Regions from separate parts of the Homo sapiens genome. Here all the other regions are linked to region 1. Evidence: promoter capture Hi-C in 16 types of primary human blood cells and fetal thymus (Javierre and others, 2016). All regions are on one chromosome and are shown on one strand. Each heading gives the region's core, a stretch centred on a gene start or on the middle of the fragment in contact. The rest is flanking DNA. Distances are from core to core; before and after follow the strand shown.

Region 1 (2,700 bases), core at 126-2,625:
TTGCCTATCTACTCTAACATTCCAAATAATAAACGAAAAAATATGCCCAGATCCCAAAAGTCTCCAGAAGAGAAACTTTGTAGTATAAACGAGGAATTTACCACAGCAGACACAAAAATACTAAAAGCACCAGACTGCCACAGCATTGTCTTAGATTTAGGAATCCAAATAACTACTAAAGTTCTAGAGAAGCAATCATGATAACTTCATAATCTTCTAAAGGAAAAACTAAAGGCTGGCTTCTTAAAAGTTCCTAACTGAATCGTTCCAGGTTTCTTTATCTCTAGTTTTGCTACACTGGACAGCTTCTGAGAGTACAGGCAATGTAGGGATTTTCCATTACAATGGTGCCAGAGACCGAAGGACAAACACATTTTTAAAGAAGCAATCAAATTCTGCCCATTGATTTTTATCAGGACGCTAAAATCCTATGAAAAGATTGTGGTCACGTGCCGATTTGGAAACTAGCAGAAAAGTTATTCCTCAAAAGAACTGTAGTCACGAGATGTGTCATCCCTTACCAAAAAAAAAAAAAAGCAATACGTCCACCAACTATTTATTAAGTTCAGCACTTAAATTTCTCATTTTGCCTTTTTACTTACCAAGTTGGAAGAAAAAAGGGAACGCGATTGTGAAACGTTAGCCAGCGTCTGAATCAGATAATGCCCCCAAAACGCCTGCAGCCTCTAAGATTGGCTTTACTTTCCGAATTCCTCACCCGAGTGGTCGTAAGACATCGAGCAAACACGTTCTGCTAGGTGGAACTTCAGAGGTCGCCAAAATCAAGTCATGGGAGCGCCTTTGTTTTCCCTACATTAATCATTCGGGTGTAGGATTTGGTTTGGGGTCTGTGGATGTGTGTCCCGGAGTGGTTGGGGGAAAGGCTGGCGTGTACGTGTGTTCCCAGGTGACCGGGTGTATTTCTCCGTGTGTATGTGCACGGGTGTCCGGGCTTTTGTATCTCCCTTTCTCCAGTGTTTGTGTGTGTTTCTGTGAGTCCCTCTCCCCAAGGGTGTGGGGACCGTCTTTCCTCCTGCGTCAGAGAGGAGGCAGGGAGACAACCAGCCGTCCTCTCTCCCGGGGCGGCCTTGTGACCCGCGCTAGCCCCGCGCGCACCGCACCCCGCCCCAGCTGCCCGAGGCCCGAGCCGCCCCCTCAGACCCCGACACCCGCGCACTCCGCCCGGTCCCGAAGGAGTCCCGAGTCCCGCTCACCTCGCGGCCACACGAAAGACGACCCGGGAGCTCTGGGCCGGCCCGTCTGGGCGCAATGAGGACAGAGAGAGGGTCGGGGACCTGCACAGCAGGAGGCAGCCGCGGTAGCGCAGCCAGGCTCCCGCTCCAGCTGCTCCCGTCCAGCGCGGAGGGAACAACATGGCGACGGGCCGGGGCGGGGCCAGGGAAAAAGCGGGGCGGGGCCTGGAAGGCGGGGTCCCGCGGCCGAGACCCTGGGGGACGGGCGCGGGGAAGGTGGAGCCGAGGCAGGCGGGGCCTGGATCGTGCTTTTCCTTCGGGTCGATTGCTCCTGAAGTGTCCTCCCGTCTGCGTTCGGGCGACAGCGAGTACGAAATAACTGTCATTTTGAAAAGTTTACGTAAAGTGGAAATAAACAGACCTCATGAGCACAGTCACAGGATGTCGTGATTACAATGATAAAAACGACTAGTCAAACGGACAAAGAACAAACAGGTGGATGAAAAATGAAAACAGTTGTGATACTGTGGAAAAACAAGAACTTTTTAAATGAAGCTATTAAAACTTTCCTTTAATCTTGTTAAAATACTGCCTCTGTCATCTCTGAATAGAAAGCGATGGTGCAAAAGGTGGTATTGGAGAAGCTCTCCTTAAGTCCTTGCTTTATGTATGAAGTTGAGTGCATGGATCCTATGATACAGAACCCTACAGGCGGGAGGGACTCATAGGGACATCTCAATACGTTTTGTACGGTGATTTAGTTTGTTTATCAGAAAACCAAATACTGCGTGTTCTCACTCATAAGTAGAAGCTAAATGATGAGAACTCATGGTCACATAGAGAGGAACAAGAGACACCAGGGCCCACTTGAGGGTTGAGGGTGTGAGGAGGAAAAGGAGCAGAAAAAAACTAGGTATCAAGTACTATGCTTATTACCTGGGTAACTAAATAATCCGTACACCAAGCCCTTGCAACAGGCAGTTTACCTACATGACAAACCTACACATGTACCCCTAAACCTAAAATAAAAGCTTTTTAAAAAAGATTTAGTCTGTTTATTTTCCAAGACAAAGATCTCACTTTTATGATGCTGGGGCTCACAACAAGTTAAATAATCTCCAGCTTTTTGGGGAGTCATTTTCAGGTAATGACTTTTCATTCAGCACTAGAAAGGTCATGTTTGAGAAAGTTCCTCACAAATTAAAAAGGCAATTTTAGAATGCTTCTGAAAACGACACATAAGCTTAAATAATTGTTTTCTCATAAACAGAAATCTATTTCTTATCTGCAGGTCATTTCCCCAAGGAAATATGTATAAACGTTTATAAAATACAAATCTGTTAAATTGGGGGGAAGAAGAAATATACACTATCTTGTTTTAAAACACATATTAAAAGTACACAGTAAAACATTATATATGAACACTAGAGTTAATTTTCCAATAGAAAAAAAAGTCATGTACATTGGGTCAAATTGCAACAAGCAATCCACAGGGTAATTAAAGAAA
Region 2 (2,700 bases), core at 136-2,635, 660 kb after region 1:
CTAAAAAGAGTGTCAGTTTCCACTGGCTTTCCTCTTGTTTTCCACCTAACTAATGAACTCGCTTCAGCTCAGGGTGAAGGGATATACCAGAAGCAGGACGAAGTGCTTAAAGTGAGAAGATACATGAAATGTTAATCTTCGCTTGACATAAACCCATCTCATTTTTCTACTTGGCATTCTGTGTAGGCTTCACCTTTTCTCCAGATGGTGCAGTCAATTGTGTTTGGGCCATTCTCACATGCATTGTGGTTTCCTAGTTCACACTCGTGGTTGTTTCATGACCTGATATGCCAGTGAACTATCTTCCTTTTAAGATATAGTTGGGCCACATTTTCATTGCCCCTACATCCTTACTTTTTAAATATTGTATGTGAAATCATCTCCCTCTAGTGAGCCTAGCGAAGCCATGACTATTTAAGGAGACAGCATAAGCTCTACACTATAGAGTCGTAGGTTTGAGTCCCGGCCTTGAAATCTTCTAGACGTCAGGATTGCTGATGATCTCACAGCCAGTTTTTCTATCTGCAAATCAGGGCTGATAATACCAACCTGCATTTCTTAAAACGTAGAATTTTATTGATGCTAACTCATATTTTTTATCTTATTTTTAAAATGAATGTCTTTCCTGTGGACCAACCCATATTTTATACAAACATCAAGAATAAGCCATGTCCAATGCTGAGGAATGGCTGAGCAGAGGGTTCCACTCAGTCTCACTGGTAGAATGAGTTTAGTTGCTTGCCTTTGGGAAGATCCTAACTTCTTAATTTCAGCGGTAGTTTTATTTGTGCTTTTGGTTTTGGGTTTTTCTTTCTTTCTTTCCTCTTCCACTTGGATGTGTTACCAAGCCTAAAGGGTCTTGTTGGAGAGAGAAGTAAATCTCAGATGTTGTACTGCTATTGATCTAATTACACAGAAGAACTCTGGGGTCTGTTAGGCATTTTATTAATTGTATTTAATCTAAGACAATGGGGAAGTCTGGTGGTTTCCTTGGAAATACCCAAGTTCAGATATTTAGGTCATTGATTTTCTGCAGCTTTCTTACAGGAAATTAAACATGTGTCCAAGTGATTGAAGTCATGTATTCAAGTCAGCTTTTGCATCCCTCCAATCACTAACTAATAACCTAACTGGTACTTTATGGTTGTCAACCACTAACTAATAACCTAACTAGAACTTTATGATTGTAAGTACTGCAGTCCAGGTTGAATTGGCTTTGTAGATAAAATGGCTTTCTATGTTTATTCCTACAAAGATCTTTCTCTCTCTCTCTCTCTCTCTCTCTCTCTCTCTCTCTCTCATATTTTTATAGAATGGTGTACAACTATGATCTGCTGAAGATAGCAAGAGTGACTCTTATTATCTCCTGTACTATGATCTGTGCATCTTTTCATTGTTGAGAAGAAAATTCTTAAGCCACAGTGAGAGGGTGGAACAAGCTCCATTTCCTGACAATCCATACTCTCTCCTAATTGTGGCTAGACAAGGGACAGAGAAGACCACTTTTTATTCTGGTTACCAGACCCACTCCCAGCACCCATGATGTCATGCCAATCAAGTTTTATTTTTACACATACACACATACACATATGAACATACAGAGTTCTAAATTATTTTCAAACACCAATCAACCTTCATAAATGACCACCCACATAGGAGTTCAGAAAGTCTTCTTTTGCAACAGAAAGAAGATCACCCACTAGTGGACGTGACAGCAGGTTGAGATCAGAAGGAATGGAAAACTCATTAGCTGCCTATTGAATTCAAAGGAAAACAGGTACTTCCCTCTGATGTACATGCATAGGAGATCAGTTAGTTCCGTTTCATGTGTAAACACCAACTGGCTGTGCTCATGGTAAGACTGGAAACAGGCACAGGCCATCCTCCTGTTCTCCCCTGGAGGGGGAGGAAAAGAGAACAATTTGGATGAAATGTGGAAAGAGTGAAGGGAGGAGAAAAAAGGAAAGACTGACAATGAGTGTACTGGAAGGGACATGATAGGTCCCTTAAGAGAATGCCCTATATTAAGGATATGGGGTGTGAAACAGGAAAACTGCTGGCGTGGTAAACAGCTGGCTAAGCCCCCTGAACCGGGTGGATATATTTGCTTTTGTCTAGTTGTCCAGCACTGCTCAGTGAATCATAGGGACCTCCAGGGCATTGTAAACTGTTTCCTATCATGCAGGGTGTTCACACCTTCCCTTCATATGGGACCTGCAGGCCCATTCTTTATCAGCTATGGGGAAAGGAAGTTGTTTGTCATGACTTCAGATATACTCCAGACTTCTCTTTCCTCTGAAGTTCTGCAATTCCAAGATTCCAGATAGGTTGTGGCATGGAAACCAGCATGAAGGAGCCCACAGAACTACCAGGAAGGAGAATAGGGAGGAGTCGTTGGGAAGAGACAAATGGTACCGGGGCTGGTTGAGGCTCTGTCTACACAACAAAATAATTGGCTAAAAAGGGAAAGACGCGCCAGGCGCGGTGGCTCATGCCTGTAATCCCAGCACTTTGGGAGGCGGGCGGATCACAAGGTCAGGAGATCGAGACCGTCCTGGCTAACACAGTGAAACCCCGTCTCTACTAAAAATACAAAAATTAGCCGGGCGTGGCGGCGTGTGCCTGTAGTCCCAGCTGCTGAGGAGGCTGAGGCAGGAGAATGGCGTGAACCCGGGAGGCGGAGCTTGCAGTGAGCCGAGA
Region 3 (2,700 bases), core at 195-2,694, 890 kb after region 1:
TCTCTACTAAAAAATACAAAATTAGCCAGGTGTGGTGGTGCATGCCTGTAATCCCAGCTACTCGGGAGGCTGAGGCAGGAGAATCACTTGAACCCGGGAGGCGGAGCTTGCAGTGAGCTGGGATCGCACCATTGCACTCCAGCCTGGGCAACAAAAGTGAAACTCTGTCTCAAAAAAAAAAAAAAAAAAAAAAAAGAGCCAATTATACCTAATGAAAATTTAAAAACAGGCTGGGCATGGTGGCTCATGCCCACAGTCCCAGCTACTTGGGAGACTGAGGCAAGGGGATTGTTTGAGCCCAGGAGTTCTAGTCCAGCCTGGGCAACATAGCAAGACCCCGTCTCTAAAAAAAATTTTAAAGAAAAGGAAAATAAAAATAAAGTTTTTCAAGTTGACATGTTGTGAAAATTAGTTTTGATAACATTCACACATCTTCTTGCACGCCTTCTACTATGGATGAAAATATGCCAACCTCACAGGATGAGGGGGATAGAAAGAGTTCTATGTGCTCCCTCCTATTTGAAGATCTAAGGAGCTAAATCTAACTGCTTTGTGAACACTACATCAACTATGACATAAACTTAATTTGGAAATTGCTATGGTTTAAATGTGTTCCCTAAAGTTCATGTGTTGAAAGCTTAATCCCCAGTATAGGAGTATTGACAGGTGAGACCTTTAAGAGGTGATTAGGTCATAAGGGCTCTGTCCTCACAAACGGATTAACGTCATCATTGCTAGAGTGTGCTCATTATCTTGAGAATGGGTTTATTATATTAGCAAATTTGGCCCTCTATTGCTCTCTCTCAAATATGCTCTCTTGCCCTTCCACCCTTCTGCCATGGGATGATGCAGCAAGAAAGCCCTTGCCAGATGCCAGCCCCTCAGTATTGGACTTCCCAGCCTCCAGACCTGTGAGAAACAAATTTCTATTGTTTATAAATTAGCCAGTCTCTGGTATTCTGTTATAGCAGCACAAAATGAACTACAGCAGAAATCAAGTACAGTATTATATAGCTGAGAGGTTGACAAAACACAGCACATAGGCTGTTTTTCTATGGCCTGTGAGTTAAGAATGGCGTGGTAGGCAGAATAATGGCCCCCTAAAGATGTCTACATCCTAATCCTTTGAATATGTGAGTTTATATGGCAAAGGGGAAGTAAATTTGCAGATAGCATTCAGGTTGCTCATCAGCTGACCTTAACATGGGGAAATTATCCTGGATTATTTAAATTGGCCCATTGTAATCATGGGGCCCTTAAAAATGCAAGAGGGAGACAGCAGAAGCAGGGTCAGAGCAACATTTTGTTGCTGACATTGAAGGTGAAGAGGCCAATAGTGAAGGAATGTGGGCTGCCTCTGGAAACCGGAAAAGGCACGGGAACAGATTCTCCCCTAGAGCCTCAGAAGAGAATACAGCCCTGCTAACCTGTGACAGACATTACCGTAACTTACAGAACTGTAAGATACCGCAGCAACAGAGACTACATGTGCTAGCACTGCCTAAAATATTTACGATTTGGCCCTTTGCAGAAAAACTTTGCCAACTCCTGGTCTTATGACGTTTATCCCACAAGATTAGATTCTTTGGCCTGTTTTTACTCAGGAACCTCAGTTCTCATATGACTAGCAGTCCAGGGGAGGACAGAGAATATCATCACCATGGCAACTTTTCCCCTAAAGCTAGTCCTGCTTCTACTCAAAAAGATGATCATGACTACCTTTATTCTAGGTCTTTAAAAAATTGTGGCTAGAAGGCAGCATCCATTTGCCATTCTGCCAGAGGATCTTTATTGACCCCCAAATAAAAACGCTGAAGAGCGTCACTGACTCAACAATAAACGGGCATGGTAACTAAAAGATAGCCACAGACTCTTAACACATTTCCCATCAAGGAGCAGGGTCTAGTCTCCCGCCCTTGAATCTGAGAGGGCTCTGTACTTGCCCAACAGCATATGACAGAAATTATGATACACCAACTTGCAAGCCCAGTCCTTAATGGACTGGTGGCTTCAATGTCCTGTCTTTTGGAACATGTGCTCTTAGAACCCAGCTTCCATGCTGTAAGGAAGCTCAAGCAGCCCCATGGAGAGGCCTACAAGAAGAGGAGCTGAGGTTCCTAACCAAGCTCCCAGGCAAAAGCTAGTAACAACTTCAGTCATGTGAGCCATCTTCAAGAACCCTCCAGCCCCAGTTAGCCGCCTCAGCTGTGACCAGCCTCAGCTGTGACCATACGCGGCAAAAACAAGCTTTCTTCACTGAGCCCTTCCCAAATTGCAGATTTGTAAGCCAAATCAACAATTACTGTTTTAAGCCATTAAGCTCTTTATTTATTACATGGTAACCGATAACCTTGTATAACTTTGCATAACCTTGTCTCACAGTATAGCTAAAGATTCTGCCAGCAGGTTAACTGACCATAGTAAAATGTTACAACAGAGACATCTAGACACCTGCTGTCCTAAGATGTCATCATGGAATTTCCATGGTCTATAGTGAAGCTGGAGCGGACCTCTCCCTGCATATCTGAAATGATTTAGGGATAAGAAGGTAAAATTGGAAGGCTCTATGTTCAGTAAAGTAGCATATAAAAAACGCAAAATGGGAGGATTGATGGCCAGGAGACAGCAAACCAGATTTCTGATCCTAGTTCAGTGACAGATTCAAGAAGGGGCCCTTACATGAACTGAATCAATTTTGTC
Region 4 (2,700 bases), core at 177-2,676, 640 kb after region 1:
ATCATGGCTTAAAATTCCCCAAGATGTCTCATTGGCTAATTTGGGTACCAAGTAGATTGTGGGGAAATGGGGACAGCTGGTGGTATTTAGTGTCAGTAATTAGGGATTCTCTTTAGGTTATAGAGAACTCTTAGATATAAAGGTGAGCTGCCTTGTCAGGGAAAGATGGCTTCCAACCCAGCTGTGGAAATAATCGGGCTGGGCACGATGGCTCAAGCCTGTAACCCCAGCACTTTAGGAGGCTGAGGCGGGCGGATCGCTTGAGCCCAGGAGTTGCAGACCAGCCTGGGCAACATAGTGAGACCTCATCTCTGCAAAAAATAAACAAAATTGGCCAGGAGCGGTGGTTCATGCCTGTAATCCTAGCACTTTGGGAGGCTGAGGCGGGCAGACTGACTGAGCTCAGGAGTTCGAGACCAGCCTGGGCAACACGGTGAAACCCTGTCTCTACTAAAATACAAAAAAAAAAAAAAAAAAATCAGCCAGGCGTGGCGGCGTGCGCCTATAGTCCCAGCTACTTGGGAGGCTGAGGCAGGAGAATTGCTTGAACCAGGGAGGCAGAGGTTGCAGGAAGCCGAGATCGTGCCACTGCACTCCAGCCTGGGGACAGAGTAAGACTCTGTCTCTAAAAATAAATAAATAAATAAAATAAAATTAGCTGGGCATGGTGGGACATGCCTGTAGTCCCAGCTACTTGGGAGGCTGTGGTGGGAGGATCCCTTGAGCGCGGGCAGTTGAGGCTACAGTGAGTAGTGATTACACCATTGCAGCCCAGCCTGGGTGACAGAGCAAGACCCTGTCAAAAAAAAAAAAAAAAAGAAAAAAGAAAAATGAAAGAAAAGAAATGACCACATCATGAGAAATCTAGACATAAAGTCTTTAACTTTGTATATCCACTGCAGAATCATGCAATGCCCAGTGTGAGGGAATGGAGTAGGATAGGAGAAAACTACCTGCCCCTGCTGGGAGTCAACAATTTTCTTAGATAAAACATAAAAGCACAATCCATTGATAAAAAGGATGCAGCTGGGCGTGTTGGAAGCACACAGGACATGGGAGGGAGCCTGGGCTCCACCCGCAGGGTGATGGCCATTCCACCCAAAGGGGCAGGAGTGGCTGGAACGAGCCTGGGGGCAAGGTCCTAGGCCCCGTTCACTTGGCCTCCATTCCTTAGGGCAGGGTCCCCTGGCACTCACCACTCCCGAGTCCTTGCTTCCTTCACCAGGATGAGGAGCTGGAATATCGTGGGGACAGAGGCCTCAGAGAGCCACCCAATGAGTCCACAGCAGCCATGGACAGTCCGTGAGGGGGAGGGTGTGCCTGCAGGGGGCGTGGCCCCATGCCGCCCGCCACCTGCATGCGCACTGGGCCGACCAATCAGCGAGGAGCGCGGGCAGCCGGGGCGGCTGCTGCTCTCGTGAGAACAGAGGACCCAGGCCCTCGGAGGAGCTTCGCGGTGCCAGCCTCTGCAGGTCCTCTGAGGGAGCAACATCAGGGCTCCCTCAGGTGAGACGCCCTCGGTGGGGATGCGGGGAAGGCGGGCCAGAGGCCCTTTGGGGAAGAGGGTGTGAAGGGCGGGGCAGCCAGGCTGATCTGTGAGGAAATGGCCCAGGCATTGTCGCCTGGGGCCTGGGTCAGGGCAGGGAGTTGGAGCTGCCTGAGTGGTCCCCAGGACCCAGGAGGGTCCCGGAGGCCTGTGCATGTGTGCAGCGTTTGGGGGGGGGTCGGGGGGTCAACGTGGGTCCGTCTTGTCTGGCTGCCCATCAGGACGGGATACTTGGGGTCACCAGGGGTCCCCTGGGCGTCCAGGCTGGCGAATGGGCAGTCCCTGCCCCTGTCAGAAACAGGTGCGTACCGGCTCATTCCCATGGAGATGGCTGGGGAGATCCTGTGTCACCCCGCGGCCCTCCCGACTCCACTGGGTCGCTGGGGAACCCAGGGGCAGGGCCAGGCTCTGTCCCAAGGGCACTGCAAGAATCCCGCAGAGGCCGCGGAATTCTGCGAGCTCTGCAGCCAGCCCCGGGGAAGCGCTGGACGGGCCAGGACAGGAGGGGATGATGGCATCTTCTCCGCGTCCCCTCCTGCTCCCACGGGAGACCCGGGGCGCCCTTGAACCTGCGATCCTGATGATTTTCATTTAACACGCCTCGTTTCCTTAGTGTCCTTAGTGTGTCTTTGCACTCACCAGGTTCAGAGGTCGCCTCTAGCTTCCCAGGCCAGTCAGCCACGGAGCCCGTGGGCAGGAAGGGCAGCAGGATGGCTGCCAAGGACCAGTTGGAGGTTCAAGTTATGGCCGCCCAGGAAATGGAGCTTGCAGGTAAACACAGCCCAAGGGGACCTAGAAGAAGGTGCACGCCCAACAGTCTGTCTGCTTTCTGGGCGGGGCGCACATGGGCAGCCCGAGGCCCCCGGCCCCTTCGTGGCTTTGGAGCTCACCGTGCATGTGCTGAGATGCCCCAGGTTTTCAAAGCAGGCTCAAGGGCCTTAGGCTTCCCGTGGGAGGCTCCCCCTCATAGCAGGGTTACAGATGCTCTCAGAGCAGCTCTTCTCCATGGATGCGGTCCTGACATCCAAGGGATCTGACCTGTGAACGTTGTTTACTGGGACTTGAACCCGAAGGGCTTCCAAAAATGCCTCCGTAAAATGGTTAGGAGCCGGCGATTCCATGTATAGCTCTGCGGTAAAGCTTTAATTGGCGGA

The links. Contacts are between HindIII fragments. The CHiCAGO score rates a contact against its expected background, and 5 or more counts as called.
Region 2: a contact is called between a fragment that was not itself captured here and the fragment with the promoter of RAB9A in region 1, in 1 of 17 cell types (total CD8 T cells). The highest score is 5.1, in total CD8 T cells.
Region 3: a contact is called between a fragment that was not itself captured here and the fragment with the promoter of RAB9A in region 1, in 2 of 17 cell types (non-activated CD4 T cells and fetal thymus). The highest score is 6.8, in non-activated CD4 T cells.
Region 4: the fragment with the promoter of FAM9C here is called in contact with the fragment with the promoter of RAB9A in region 1 in 2 of 17 cell types (naive CD4 T cells and M0 macrophages); the score reaches 6.7 in naive CD4 T cells.

Annotation. Positions count from the first base shown.
Region 1 is chrX:13,687,803-13,690,502 of GRCh38, reverse strand. RAB9A (RAB9A, member RAS oncogene family) reads right to left here and starts at 1,375. Exons shown (of 3, transcript NM_004251.5): 1 at 1,215-1,375. RefSeq lists silencers at 1,066-1,225, 1,236-1,475 and an enhancer at 1,626-1,675. The HindIII fragment of the contact is 3,610 bases long and covers 1-2,226 here.
Region 2 is chrX:13,024,695-13,027,394 of GRCh38, reverse strand. No RefSeq gene overlaps it. Among named protein-coding and RNA genes, the nearest start is that of FAM9C, 19 kb to the left of the region's middle. The HindIII fragment of the contact is 3,108 bases long and covers 1-2,700 here.
Region 3 is chrX:12,793,709-12,796,408 of GRCh38, reverse strand. The region is part of intron 1 of PRPS2 (phosphoribosyl pyrophosphate synthetase 2); the gene reads right to left. Among named protein-coding and RNA genes, the nearest start is that of PRPS2, 3.6 kb to the right of the region's middle. The HindIII fragment of the contact is 1,610 bases long and covers 640-2,249 here.
Region 4 is chrX:13,043,346-13,046,045 of GRCh38, reverse strand. It overlaps FAM9C (family with sequence similarity 9 member C), which reads left to right and starts at 1,426. Exons shown (of 8, transcript NM_174901.6): 1 at 1,426-1,506; 2 at 2,189-2,317. The coding sequence starts at 2,257. LOC105373133 (a long non-coding RNA gene) reads right to left here and starts at 1,313. Exons shown (of 4, transcript NR_171577.1): 1 at 1,197-1,313. The HindIII fragment of the contact is 8,868 bases long and covers 1-2,688 here.